Regions from separate parts of the Homo sapiens genome. Here regions 2 and 3 are each linked to region 1. Evidence: promoter capture Hi-C in human tissues and cell types (Jung and others, 2019). All regions are on one chromosome and are shown on one strand. Each heading gives the region's core, a stretch centred on a gene start or on the middle of the fragment in contact. The rest is flanking DNA. Distances are from core to core; before and after follow the strand shown.

What was found. Contacts are between HindIII fragments. The study calls those that stand out against the background at their distance.
Region 2: a fragment that was not itself captured here is called in contact with the fragment with the promoter of GPR132 in region 1 in 1 of the 25 tissues and cell types used here (lymphoblastoid cells).
Region 3: a contact is called between a fragment that was not itself captured here and the fragment with the promoter of GPR132 in region 1, in 1 of the 25 tissues and cell types used here (lymphoblastoid cells).

Annotation. Positions count from the first base shown.
Region 1 is chr14:105,063,490-105,067,336 of GRCh38, reverse strand. GPR132 (G protein-coupled receptor 132) reads left to right here and starts at 1,907. Exons shown (of 4, transcript NM_013345.4): 1 at 1,907-1,958. RefSeq lists enhancers at 759-828, 1,039-1,208, 884-1,401, 3,079-3,218, 3,329-3,428 and 1 more. The HindIII fragment of the contact is 15,172 bases long and covers 1-3,847 here.
Region 2 is chr14:106,395,760-106,399,606 of GRCh38, reverse strand. It overlaps IGH and the pseudogene IGHV3-37. Among named protein-coding and RNA genes, the nearest start is that of LINC00221, 85 kb to the left of the region's middle. The HindIII fragment of the contact is 9,547 bases long and covers 1-3,847 here.
Region 3 is chr14:106,121,059-106,124,905 of GRCh38, reverse strand. It overlaps IGH and the pseudogene IGHV1-12. Among named protein-coding and RNA genes, the nearest start is that of LINC00226, 160 kb to the left of the region's middle. The HindIII fragment of the contact is 4,139 bases long and covers 1-3,847 here.

The DNA of each region.
Region 1 (3,847 bases), core at 658-3,157:
AGGCCCGGTGGGAATAGGCAGGGCCAGTCCACACCCCCAGGCTGTCAGTGTTTGGACTCCCAGGCTCCTGCCTGCCCTCCACCCCAGCCTGGCTTCTCCACCTGGCAGGGGCAGGGGAGCCGGTACACGGCTGCCAACCCCCCAGTTCATACCCACAGCTCCTGCCACCCAAGGGACCCAACTTTCCTTTCCCAGACCCCAGTGAAGGACCCAAAGAGAGGATTCAACTGACCTCACTTGAATCGGCTATTCCCGGACTGCCTGGCAAAGGCCAGAAGGCATGGAGGGTGACAATGGCCTGAGCCGGGTCCGCATGTCACTCCTGGACCCCTCACCGGGGGCGCAGAGGAGGCCTGGTGAACGTGACAGACCACCCAGTGGGGCGCAGGACGGGGCAGGTCCTAGGAGGCTGCTGGGGCCAGCGACAGGAACCCACAGCTGTCCCTGGCCATCACCCCCACTGGCCTGATGTGGGCTTCGTCTATTGCTGCTCCGAGGGTGGGGCTGCCCTGGCCCAAAGACCCGGGAGGCCAGTGACCCCATGAGCAGTGGCCTGTGGAGGCGTGTGTTTGCACCAGATCCCCTAGAGGATCACTGTCCCCTGGGCAAGTGTTTCTGGAAAGCCAAGGTAGGCCCTGCCCTGAGACCTGCGCCTCCCCGCCAGGGCAATGGGAAAGCCCAGCTTTCCAGGGACTCCACTGCCACCCACACAAAACCCTCTGAAATCGCTGTTCGGAGGCAGCCTCCAGCCATGCGGCCCTGCAGCAGGGGGCAGCTGTGATCCACGTGTCTGGGGGAAAGTGTAGACTGGGGGCTCGGCCTCCACCGGCCTCTCCTGGCCGTGGGTGTACCCACCCAGGATGGCGGCTTCTTCGCTCAGTGACCGTCCCTGCTGCGGTGCTGGGCAGTGTCGCTTGGAGACATTTGTGGTCCCCAGCTCCTTCCCTCAGCCCGGCCCTGTCCCCACTGCTGAAAGAGCCTGGCTTGGATGGAGCTTGGCAGGCTCGGGAGTGGGCACCAGGGTGGGTCTGTGCCCTGAAACTCAGAAGCAGCCTGGAGGTGAGTGGAGTTGTAGGTGCTGTCCACAGCCAGCTGGCTTTGTCCAAGGAAACTGGGCCCATCATGGCCGGAAGCCCCACAGTGAGGGGGACTGTCCCAGGCAACCCTGCCTGCCCACCCTCCAGTTCCCACAGGGCCCCTCACAGAGAAGCCCACCCGCAGGGCTCCTGGGCCAGGCCAGGCTTGGTTCTGGATGCAGGAGGGGTTGAGGTAGGGCTGGGGGAGGAATGTGGAGTGTGCAGTAGGCTGTTCTTCCCACACGGCCCTGCCCCATGTAGGAAGAGGGAGGCGGGGAGGGGAGGGTGCTTGTGTGCAGTGGCTGTGCCGAGCCTTCCAGGACATGCAGGTGCCATCCTGGTCCCGGGGCTGCAGTGGGCGCACTCAGCCTCTCTACTCCTGGCACCCCGGACAGGGACTCCTGGGAGGACACAGCCTCTGGGAAGTCACCCTGCTCCGTGCTTGCCTGGCCCGAGAGTGGGCAACACCAGGCCTGAGCTGCAGAGGAGCTGGATTTTGTCTTTCCAGGACCCCTCCCTGCAGCCTTTCCAGGACCCCTGTCCTGCCTTGCCTGTCTGGGGACACACGGACAGCCGCTGTGCCGCGCCAGGCCCCAGCACCTGCCTGGGAGCTCCTGAGTGAGTGGAGCCTGGCTCTGAGTGCTGCTATTGCTAAAAGAGGTAAGACTGGGGTTTCCTGCCACTCCCTCCCTCAGGAAGGTGACGAGGCCATGCTGTCATCACCAGTAAGATACCCCAGCCCGGTTGGCTAACCCCTAGCTCAGCCCTGTTTGTGGTTAGGGGAGTTCTAGACAGAACATAATTAGACCCCTGCTACTTCCTGAAACCTCAGCTAGGACTGCAGGGAGGGGTGCGAGGCTAGCCACGCAGGCGGGGCCCTGGGTAAGTCGCTGGGCTCTGCGTGCTGGGGAGTGGGCCTGGGGGGCCAGGCTCTGGGATGGGGCTGGGGGCTGGGAGCTGGAGGCGGGCAGAGGGGGATCTGAAGGCAAAGGTGATTTGTTGGTAAAGATGGAGGCTTTGTTGAGGGTTCTTAATCTGGGGTCCCTCCCGAGAGAACCCAGGACCCCCAGTGACCACAGATGTGATGGGGCCGGAGGATTTGGGGGAGAGGGACAACAGTTTCCATTGTATCTTTGTCACCGCCACCTTCCTGGAGACTTTCTTCTGGAAAAGGCTTCCCTGGCTACTGGTCCAGATGGGGGTGAGTCAGGGGGCTGGACTTTGTCCCTGGAATCTCTCCTTGGCCACTTGCTTCCGTGATTGGTCGGGGGGCACTGAAGGGCTGGGCTTCTCTCTGTGGGGCCTGTGCTGCTTGTGGGGTTACACAGAGGGAAAAGCAGGGCAGTGGGGGCTGTGCTGCGGTGAGTGGCAGTTGGCCCAGTCACGTGACAAGATCCTGGAGCTGGGCAGGTCACCGGCCTTTGGAGTGGCGTTCGGCGCACCAGGCACAGCGGGGCGGGGGGCCCAATACCTTCTGTCAAGTGCATGACGTGGGTCTGTACCACTGCAAGGGACTGGGACTGACCACTGAAGACTGGCCAGTTGGGCTGAGCACAAAATGATATTTCAGGAGATTGGCCAGGCCGAGGTGGGAGAGCAGAGGCTCCTGGAAGAAGATGAGGATAGGGGCTGGGCACGGTGGTTCATGCCTGTAATCCCAGCACTTTGGGAGGCCGAGGTGGGCGGATCACTTGAGGTCAGGAGTTTGAGACCAGCCTGACCAACATGGTGATACCCTGTCTCTACTAAAAATACAAAAATTAGCCGGGCGTGTTGGCACACGTCTGTAATCCCAGCTACTTGGGAGGCCGAGGCAGGAGAATCGCTTGAACCTGAGAGGCGGAGCTTGCAGTGAGCCGAGATCGCGCCATTGCACTCTAGCCTGGGCAACACTATCAAATTGGGAAAAATAAGAAAGTTGACAATGGGCTTTGGATGGGTGTGGTGGAGCAGGGAGGTTGGAGCTGGTGACTCCACATTTCCCTCCCTAGGGTTTGTCTCAAACGTGACGGCAGAAAAGAGGTCATAGGTTTGCCTGGTGCCAAAGCAGGTGGGAGTAAAAGACGGAAATGGCTAGGAATGGCCAGCAACCGTGAAACAGCTTAGAAATTACAGGCAATCCAGCCAGGTGCGGTGGCTTACGCCTGTAATCCCAGCACTTTGGGAGGCCAAGGCAGGTGGATCACCTGAGGTCAGGAGTTCGAGACCAGCGTAACCAATATGGTGAAACCCTGTCTCTACTAAAAATACAAAATTAGCCGGGCGTGGTGGCACACGCCTGTAATCCCATTTACTTGGGAGGCTGAGGCAGGAGACTCACTTGAACCCAGGAGGTGGAGGTTGTGGTGAGCCGAGATCGTGCCATTGCACTCCAGCCTGGGCAACGAGAGCGAAACTCTGTCTCAAAAAAAAAAAGAAAGAAAGAAATTACAGATAGTCCACAAGACAGACCTCAGCAGCCTGAGGAGCTGTTTTTGACAAATGGGCTGGAATGAGGAACTGCTCCCTGCACATGGCAGGGGCCAGGGCTCCTTCTCTGTCCTTTTGTGTCTGTCTGAAAAGTTCCATCATAAGTTACAAAACAGGCTGGGCGTGGTGGCTCACACCTGTAATCCCAGCACTTTAGGAGGCCGAGGCGGGCGGATCACCTGAGGTCAGGAGTTCAAGACCAGCCTGACCAATATGGCGAAACCCCTTCTCTACTAAAAATACAAAAAATTAGCCGGGCATGGTGGCAGGCGCCTGCTAATCCCAGCTACTTCAGAGGCTGA
Region 2 (3,847 bases), core at 519-3,018, 1.3 Mb before region 1:
GCACCGGGAGGAGAGATTAATGATCATCTCTTCTGTCTGTGTGTTTGTTTTATTTATCTATGGATATCCTGTGTATAAAGGATGAACAAGTCCTATTTATAACATCTAATCTTTTCAGGTGTTAAGTTGCCAGCGTATGACGGAAGTAGCATTATTAAACGAATGCAGCTTGTACATATTGTGTTAAAATTCATAAAAAGCCAGTCTTCTGAAAAGAACCCTTGGGCCCTCCCTCCGCAGCCTCCGGCGCCAGCTGCAGGAAGACCTGGCCAGGGGAAGGCGGGCGGCAGAAGCTGCTGCTGGCTGTGGGGAAGGCGGTGGAGCCCAGGCCTCCACAGGCTCCCCACAGGCTCCCCACAGGCTCGCGCGGCTCTGGTTGCTGGGCTCCGCACGGGCCGCGTGGGGGCGCCTGCTGGGAGCGAGGAGGCGCCATCCTGGCTCGCCTGCTCCAGGAGGACGCTCTGGGCCTGCGCAGATGCAGTTCTCCAGGATGGGCGCGGGCGCTGGGGGCGGCGCTCCTTGGGCTGCTGCGCCTCCACTGAGCCGCCTGGGTGTGAGGACCTCGCGCCGGCGCCTCCGGGAAGGACGCGGAGCCGCCGCGGCCGATCCCAGGGCTGCAGCTGCTGCCCGACGCCCGCGGGAAGGCCCTTCCGCCACCGCCCGGGGGTTCGAACTTGGAGCAGCTGCTGCCAGCTGAGGCGCCAGCGGCGTCGGGAGCTCCTCAGAGTCAGTGTTTTGTGCTGGATTCGGCATGTCCTCTGAAAACTCGGGAATTTGTCACTGAAATGGTGACAGGAGGTGAGAAGTTTTTTTAGACGTTGCCTTCGCTGGCCTGGCGCGGGGCTCAGGCCTGGAATCCCAGCACTTTGGGAGGCTGAGGCGGGCGGATCGCTTGAGCTCCGGAGGTGGAGAAGCTGCCTTCGTGGTAACTGTGGTCTTAAGTTCAGCTGAGAACGATAAATGGCTTTTCCTTGAATTGGCTGCTTTTGTGATTTCTCTCAGGCTCATCTTTTGTCAGTTAAAAATCCAGTGGTAGGTGTAGCTTAGAGACGGGAAATTTTTGGTTTTGTTTTGGCTACACGTAAGTGTTGGAAATTATTTTCTTTTACGTTCCAGTGTGAGCAAATCCAGAAGGATGTCAGATTAAACACCGAATTTAACAAATTCAGCCGGGCACGGTGGCTCACGCCTGTAATCCCAGCACTTTGAGAGGCCGAGGCGGGTGGATGATGAGGTCAGGAGTTTGAGAACAGCCTGACCAACATAGTGAAACTCCGTCTCTACTAAAAATACAAAAATTAGCCGGGCGTGGTTGTGCGCGCCTGTAATCCCAGCTACTCAGGAGGCTGAGGCAGGAGAATCGCCGAGATTGCGCCACTGCACTCAGCCTGGGCGACAGAGCGAGACTTCGTCTCAAAAAAACAAAAAAAAATCAATCATTGGAATACTGTTGTTCATTACAATTAATGAACGTTTGATAGACGCATAAACGAACTAAATTCACAAGTACATATAAGTAAAATAAGCCAAAAAAAAAAAACTACATCCCGTATGATGACACTTTTATACATTCTACAGAATAGAAACTAAAGTGATATGAAGGTTGGGAGTTGAATGGAGAAAAGGTGAGCGAAAAGAGGGAGGACGGAGGAGTTGCAAGAGAACAAGAGAAAATGTTGAGGGTAATTGATCTGTTTTCTATCTTAATAATGGTTATGGTTACATCAATAATTTCTAAATTGTACATTTTGTGTGTTAATTATAATTTTATATTATTCAAGCTATTACAAATAAATACCTGTATAAATTTCTTAGGGACGGTTTAAGGGAGATGGATAAATCACATAAAAAGTCAGATATTTCTGAATGTACAATGAATAACCCTTAGCTCTATCTTTATTTTTTGGTAATTCTAAAATGCAGCAGATTTTTTTAATGTTTTTATTACAAGAAGGGTTTCTTCAAACCACACCAGGTGTGTGTAACTCTGGGCTAAAGTTGGTTAAGGGAGCAGTGGGATCCGGTGGAGAGGAGCACAGGCCTCGATCCTGGAGCCCATTCTTGTCACATGTGAGCTCCTGGACACATCTCATAGCTCCCTCATGCTTCTGCGTTTACATTCTCATCTGTAAATGGAGGACCAATGGGCATCTGCCTCTAACAATGTATTTTCATGTGTTAAGATGATGTATGTTAAGTGTTTACTATAGCACAATCTTTTAATAAGAAATTACATTTTTTTCCAAATACTATCATTGTCTTCAAGCCCCACCACCCACCAGAAAACTTAATATGCTCTGTGCCCTGCCCTGTCCTCAGACATCCAGCCCAAGAGACTTTTATATAGTAGGAGATATGCAAATAGTTCCCTCCCTCTGCTGATGATGAAAACCAGCCCAGCCGTGACCGTGCAGCTCTGGGAGACGAGCTCAAGTGCCAGGATTCCCAAGTGTTTTCACTTGGTGATCAGAACTTAACACAGAGGAATCACCATGTTGTTTGGGCTGAGCTGGGCTTTCCTTTTTACTATTTTAAGAGGTGATACATGAAGAACTACAGATATTGTTCGTGAGTGGATATTAGAGAAACAGTGGATATGTGTGGCAGTTTCTGACCAGGATGTCTCTGTGTTTGCAGGTGTGCAGTATGAGGTGCAGCTGGTAGAGTCTGGGGGAGACTTGGTACAGCTGTGGTGGGGTTGGGGGTGTCCTGAGACTCTCATGTGCAGCCTGCGGATTCATCTTGAGAAGCAATGACATGAACTGGGCCCACCGGGCTTCAAGAAAGGGGCTGGAATGGGTCTCATACATTAGTGCTAGTGGTGGTAGCCTATACTATGCAGACACTGAAGGGTAGATTCACCATCTCTAGAGACAATGGCAAGAACATGCTGTACTTGCAAATGAACAGTCTGAGAGATGAGGACTCGGCTGTGTGAGAGACATGGTGAGGGGAAATCAGTATGAGCCCAGCCAGAAACCTCCCTGCAGGAACCCTGGGGTGGGGGGAAATCAGCTGCAGGGGGCACTCAGGACCCACTGATCAGAATCAACCCCAGAAGGAGGTGCACATGGAGATTAGGGGCTGGATTCCTTCCAGGATGTGGGACTTCAACTTCTTCTGACAGTTTCCCCAGGGAACCGCTCTAAGTTTAGAATTCTGTGTCATCTCTATGTATTTAAAAAAGATCATTTTAATGTGAGGAACTAACTATTCTCACATGCACAAAATGCAGATTCACACTCACAGAGATGAAAAGTCCTCAACTGTGGTCACTAGGATCAGAGTCCTGAGGAATCTCAGGCGTTCCTGGTGAGTCTTCTCCAATCAGACCCAGGACAGACACCTCAGTGAGATTCCATGACTAGAACAGGCTTTATGGATTTTAAAAAAAATAGACTGAGCCAGGGTCAGTGTCATGTAGAACCTCACAGGTTTCACATCTGACCCTTCTCCTGACACTAAAGTGTGCAAATCAGCATCAATACTGATCTGGTGCTGCTTTTGCTCCCAATCTGTGTTCTTTCTTGAGTTGTCCCTTTTTCATTTGCTTTTCCTGCTCCCTGAAAAAAGAAAGATGTTGTCTCTGTGGTCTAAATTCCAGGGCTCAAGCCCTTTTCTTGGAGCTCAGGTGGGTCTCAGGTTGTGGCTCCTGCAGCCACGCTGGGGAGGCTGATGGGACTTTCTTCTCTCCCATTGCTCAGGGCCCTCCACTATATTGTGTGGAGACTCATCTCAGAATAGATGTGGCCAGTGGGAGCTGAAGGGGACAAGCTTGTTTGGTCAAAATGAGATACAAATATGGAATTCACCCTGTGCTGTACAAACTGTCACAGAGTCACTTTCT
Region 3 (3,847 bases), core at 750-3,249, 1.1 Mb before region 1:
AGCCTTCCTTTATCATGAAAGTGGATAAAATTAGCCAATAGAGAAATAATCCTATAATGTTATAGCCAGAAAAGGGAAAGCAACAGTTTCATTTCTGGAGACTCTGCGTATAGGTCACAACCCAGAGAAAGAAAGGATGACTGAATTATTAAGAATCAATTGTAAGAACATATAATACTTCCAGGATGCACACTTTGTTTTCTCACCAGTATAATCTGGGTTAAAGATGAAAGTGTGGAAATGCACAGACTCTATGTGAGGAGGAGAACATAGGGAAACTGAAAGACAATGGCAGAGAATAAGACAAGGACAGTAGGAAAATCTGAAGCCTCTGACATAAATTTTTTGAAGACAAGGTCTTGGCAAATCCATTGACCTCAGATTCTTTTATCATGGGGCATTTGCAGGGTTCCTAGCTGAGAAAAAAAATGCATGCACTTCCCAAGTCTCCACTTGTATTCTGTTTGCCTCAGATCGCTAAGTGAAAAAAAGCCATAAACCTAGGCCTAGTGTGTGTGTAGGAGGCACTTTTTATAGGCTAGAAAATAGTAAGAAAGGAGAATATGTGTTATTGGAATAGCATATACAAAGGTGTCTTTATTCTGAATTTATCTGTACCTGCAGATATTCTCAGGTGCAACATTCAACTGCAAGAGCCCAGCGAAGAAACTAGGCACTCCCCAAATCCTTCAAGTTTTTGTGTTCATTGTGTGTCCACTGACTCAGGAAATGTGAAGCTTCAGAAAAGGGGGTCCCTTCTGTGTCACAGAATCTTGTCTGTGGGTCTCCCTCTGTAGGTTTAGTAAGGCTAATCAATTGTTAAAAGACATGGTGTCAGCAGCATGTGGTGTCACTGATGGAGAATTCTAAACCAGGACACAGCCACTTCATGCTGGGCTAGAGACTCTGAAGGAAAATATTTGTGAGCCCCGACAGAAACCTCATTGCAAGGCAAGAGCTTCTGTGGAAGGGGGCACTTGGGAGCCACCAAGCGCAGGTTCCAGCCCTGGAGCAGGTGCACAGCTGGGGAGGAGGTTTCCTCTCAGTGCCTGGGTTTTCGTTTGTCAGGAAAAAACAATCTAAAATAACTGTTCAAAAAGTCGCTGATGTGCTTTAAATATTCTATCACATCAAAACCATTCATATAACTTAAGGCACTGGGAACTATTTTTTAAAGTGGGTTTCTAGAACTATAATATCTTAATAGTGAGAATATGAAGGATAGGCATGTTTTTACTAATTCTATGGGTACAGATTAGTTGAAGAAACTACATTCCTATGAATAAGAAATTCAGATTTCAGTGTTAAGTAATGTTGCTTACATTGTGTGAGTGACAGGGCAGTGGTGGATCTGAGAGTGTGGCAGGTGCACAGACCAAGTGAGTCAGAAATCAATATGGAAAGGTGAGGGTCTGTGGATATGAACTGAAAGTATGTAAATACTTGACAAAATACTAATAAATGGAGTTCAAAATAACCCAAAATTGTTCTAAACACAAATTCCTTGACAATTACTTTGGGAGTAGAGAGTTCATAATGGACTCCAAACTCCTGCTTTATCTTCTGATTCCCATTGTCTGTGAGATGAGAAAATCAGCTCTAATTATGCATCACAGGGCAAATCTGTAAATCAAGAGTGTTCAATAGAATTGAAGACCCTGGGGGATCAGGACATGAGGCAGGTGCTGGAGACAGTGTCTCAGGAGCACCCAGTAGATCTCAGAGGTCCCTCCTGGACACTCATGTGGGACATAAGCATCACTTTCTCAGAGTCACCAATGAGCTGTGCTGGTGGCTGATGGGTCCAGGAAAAGACCAAGGCACCTGCTCAGTGTGATGGAGAGTGATGGTTCCAAAAATGATCCAGGTGGTCTCTATGCTAATCAAATGTAGGCTCACAGTGAGGAGCCTGTTCTATATGGGCTTATTCTTCAGTGAAAGGACGTCTGTCCACAAATGTTTGTAAATGGAGCAGGGCATGCATTTCCTCAAGCAGGATTAGGGCTTCGACCGTCTGCATCTCACTCTTGTTAGGCTGATGTGTCATTTATCTTCCCTTTCTTATCATGGATTGGGCTTTGAGCTAAGAAAGGCTTTGTCTTATGAATATGCAAATATACTGATATCCACTGAGGTAAATATGTTCTGTGCCCTGAGAGAATCACCTGAGAGAATCCCCTGAGAGCACATCTCCTCATGGGCTGGACCTGCAAGATCCTCTTCTTGGTGGCAGCAGCCACAGGTAAGCAGTTCCCAGGTCCAAGTAATGAGGAGGGGATTGAGTCCAGTCAAGGGGGCTTTCATCCACTCCTGTGTCCTCCCCACAGGTGCCCACTCCCAGGTGCAGCTGGTGCAATCTGGGGCTGAGGTGAAGAAGCCTGGGGCCTCAGTGAAGGTCTCCTGCAAGGCTTCTGGATACACCTTCACCTACTGCTACTTGCACTGGGTATGACAGGCCCCTGGACAAGGGCTTGAATGGACAGGATTTTAGTTATTTGAGAGATTTTTCATACAACATTTATTCTGTAAGCAAATTTCAGGGATTGTAGAATGAATCATATTAACAAATCTGACACAGAACTTCCTCTGAATCAATCTTTGTAAACATCAATTTCTGAATCAATGTTGTAAATATTTCAGAACACAAGCACAAATTCACATTTTAACTCTACTTTTATCTCTATTTAAAAAATATCAAAAAATCTCATTTTGTGCATGTAACGTTTTGAATGCCCACCATCAATGCATGACATTTCTTGTTTTTCCACATTCATGTTACCATTTATCATCATGAGAATTGTGAGTTTTAGCCATGCTGATAGGTGAGTAATGGCATCTAATTTTTATTTAAATGCACATGTCCCAAATAAAAAATTCGTATTAAACAATTTTTATATAATTTTTGCTGGGATGCCTTTCCTGATATGTGGTTCATTTTTATCTGCATTGTTTTCTTTTCATTAGTTGTAAGTTTACTTGCATATTGATTATAAAAGTCACTTAACAAATCCAAAGAATTGATTTAACAAATAGATGACTTGGAAGTATTTTCTCCCAGTCTGTGGTTGTCTTTTTCTCTCTTATCAGTGGGTATTTCAAAAAATATATGTGTGTCTGTGTGTCTGTGTGTGTGTGTGTGCACAGATTTAGACAAAAAACATAAAAAATTATTCATTCATAGATCATGTATTTGGCATTATATCTGAAGTCTCATTATAAAATACACTAATAGTGATTATTTATTCCATGTTGCTAATCTCAGGCCACAATCAACTCATGAGTGCTTAGCCTTCACCTATTGATTGGAGGACTATCCACCTGAGATATTTGGAATACTTCCATGAGGAGATGTGTTCTTCTTCCCATCATTTCTTTATTTAATCATCTATTAACATCCGTATTGGTTTATGGACATCTATTTCATACTCTGAAGAAGATCCATGCTACATTATTCATTTTCTTGTTCAAATCTCCACAGCTTTATTAGGTGCTGGGACCTCATTTAGTTTGGATCCTGCATCCTTACAGCAAAGCTCATCCTTTTGTTTTTGAACACTTCCCTGTTTCCTGATATTACGATAGATTCTAAGCTTGTTTCTTTATCACCTTTTTCATACATAGAATTAGCCATTTATATAAAGATTGCTTGTTTCTGATTTTAAAGAGTAGTGTTAAAATAAAATATTGTGATAATGGGTATGTGTGTTGTTAATGTGGTATAAGTACTTCTGGGACCTCTCAACCTTCTGTTCTAGCAAATGTGCATGTTTATATGAATCATGTCATGTCCATATATCCAATGTTGAACTATGTTGCGAAAAGTGATCTCAAGATAATGGTAATTATC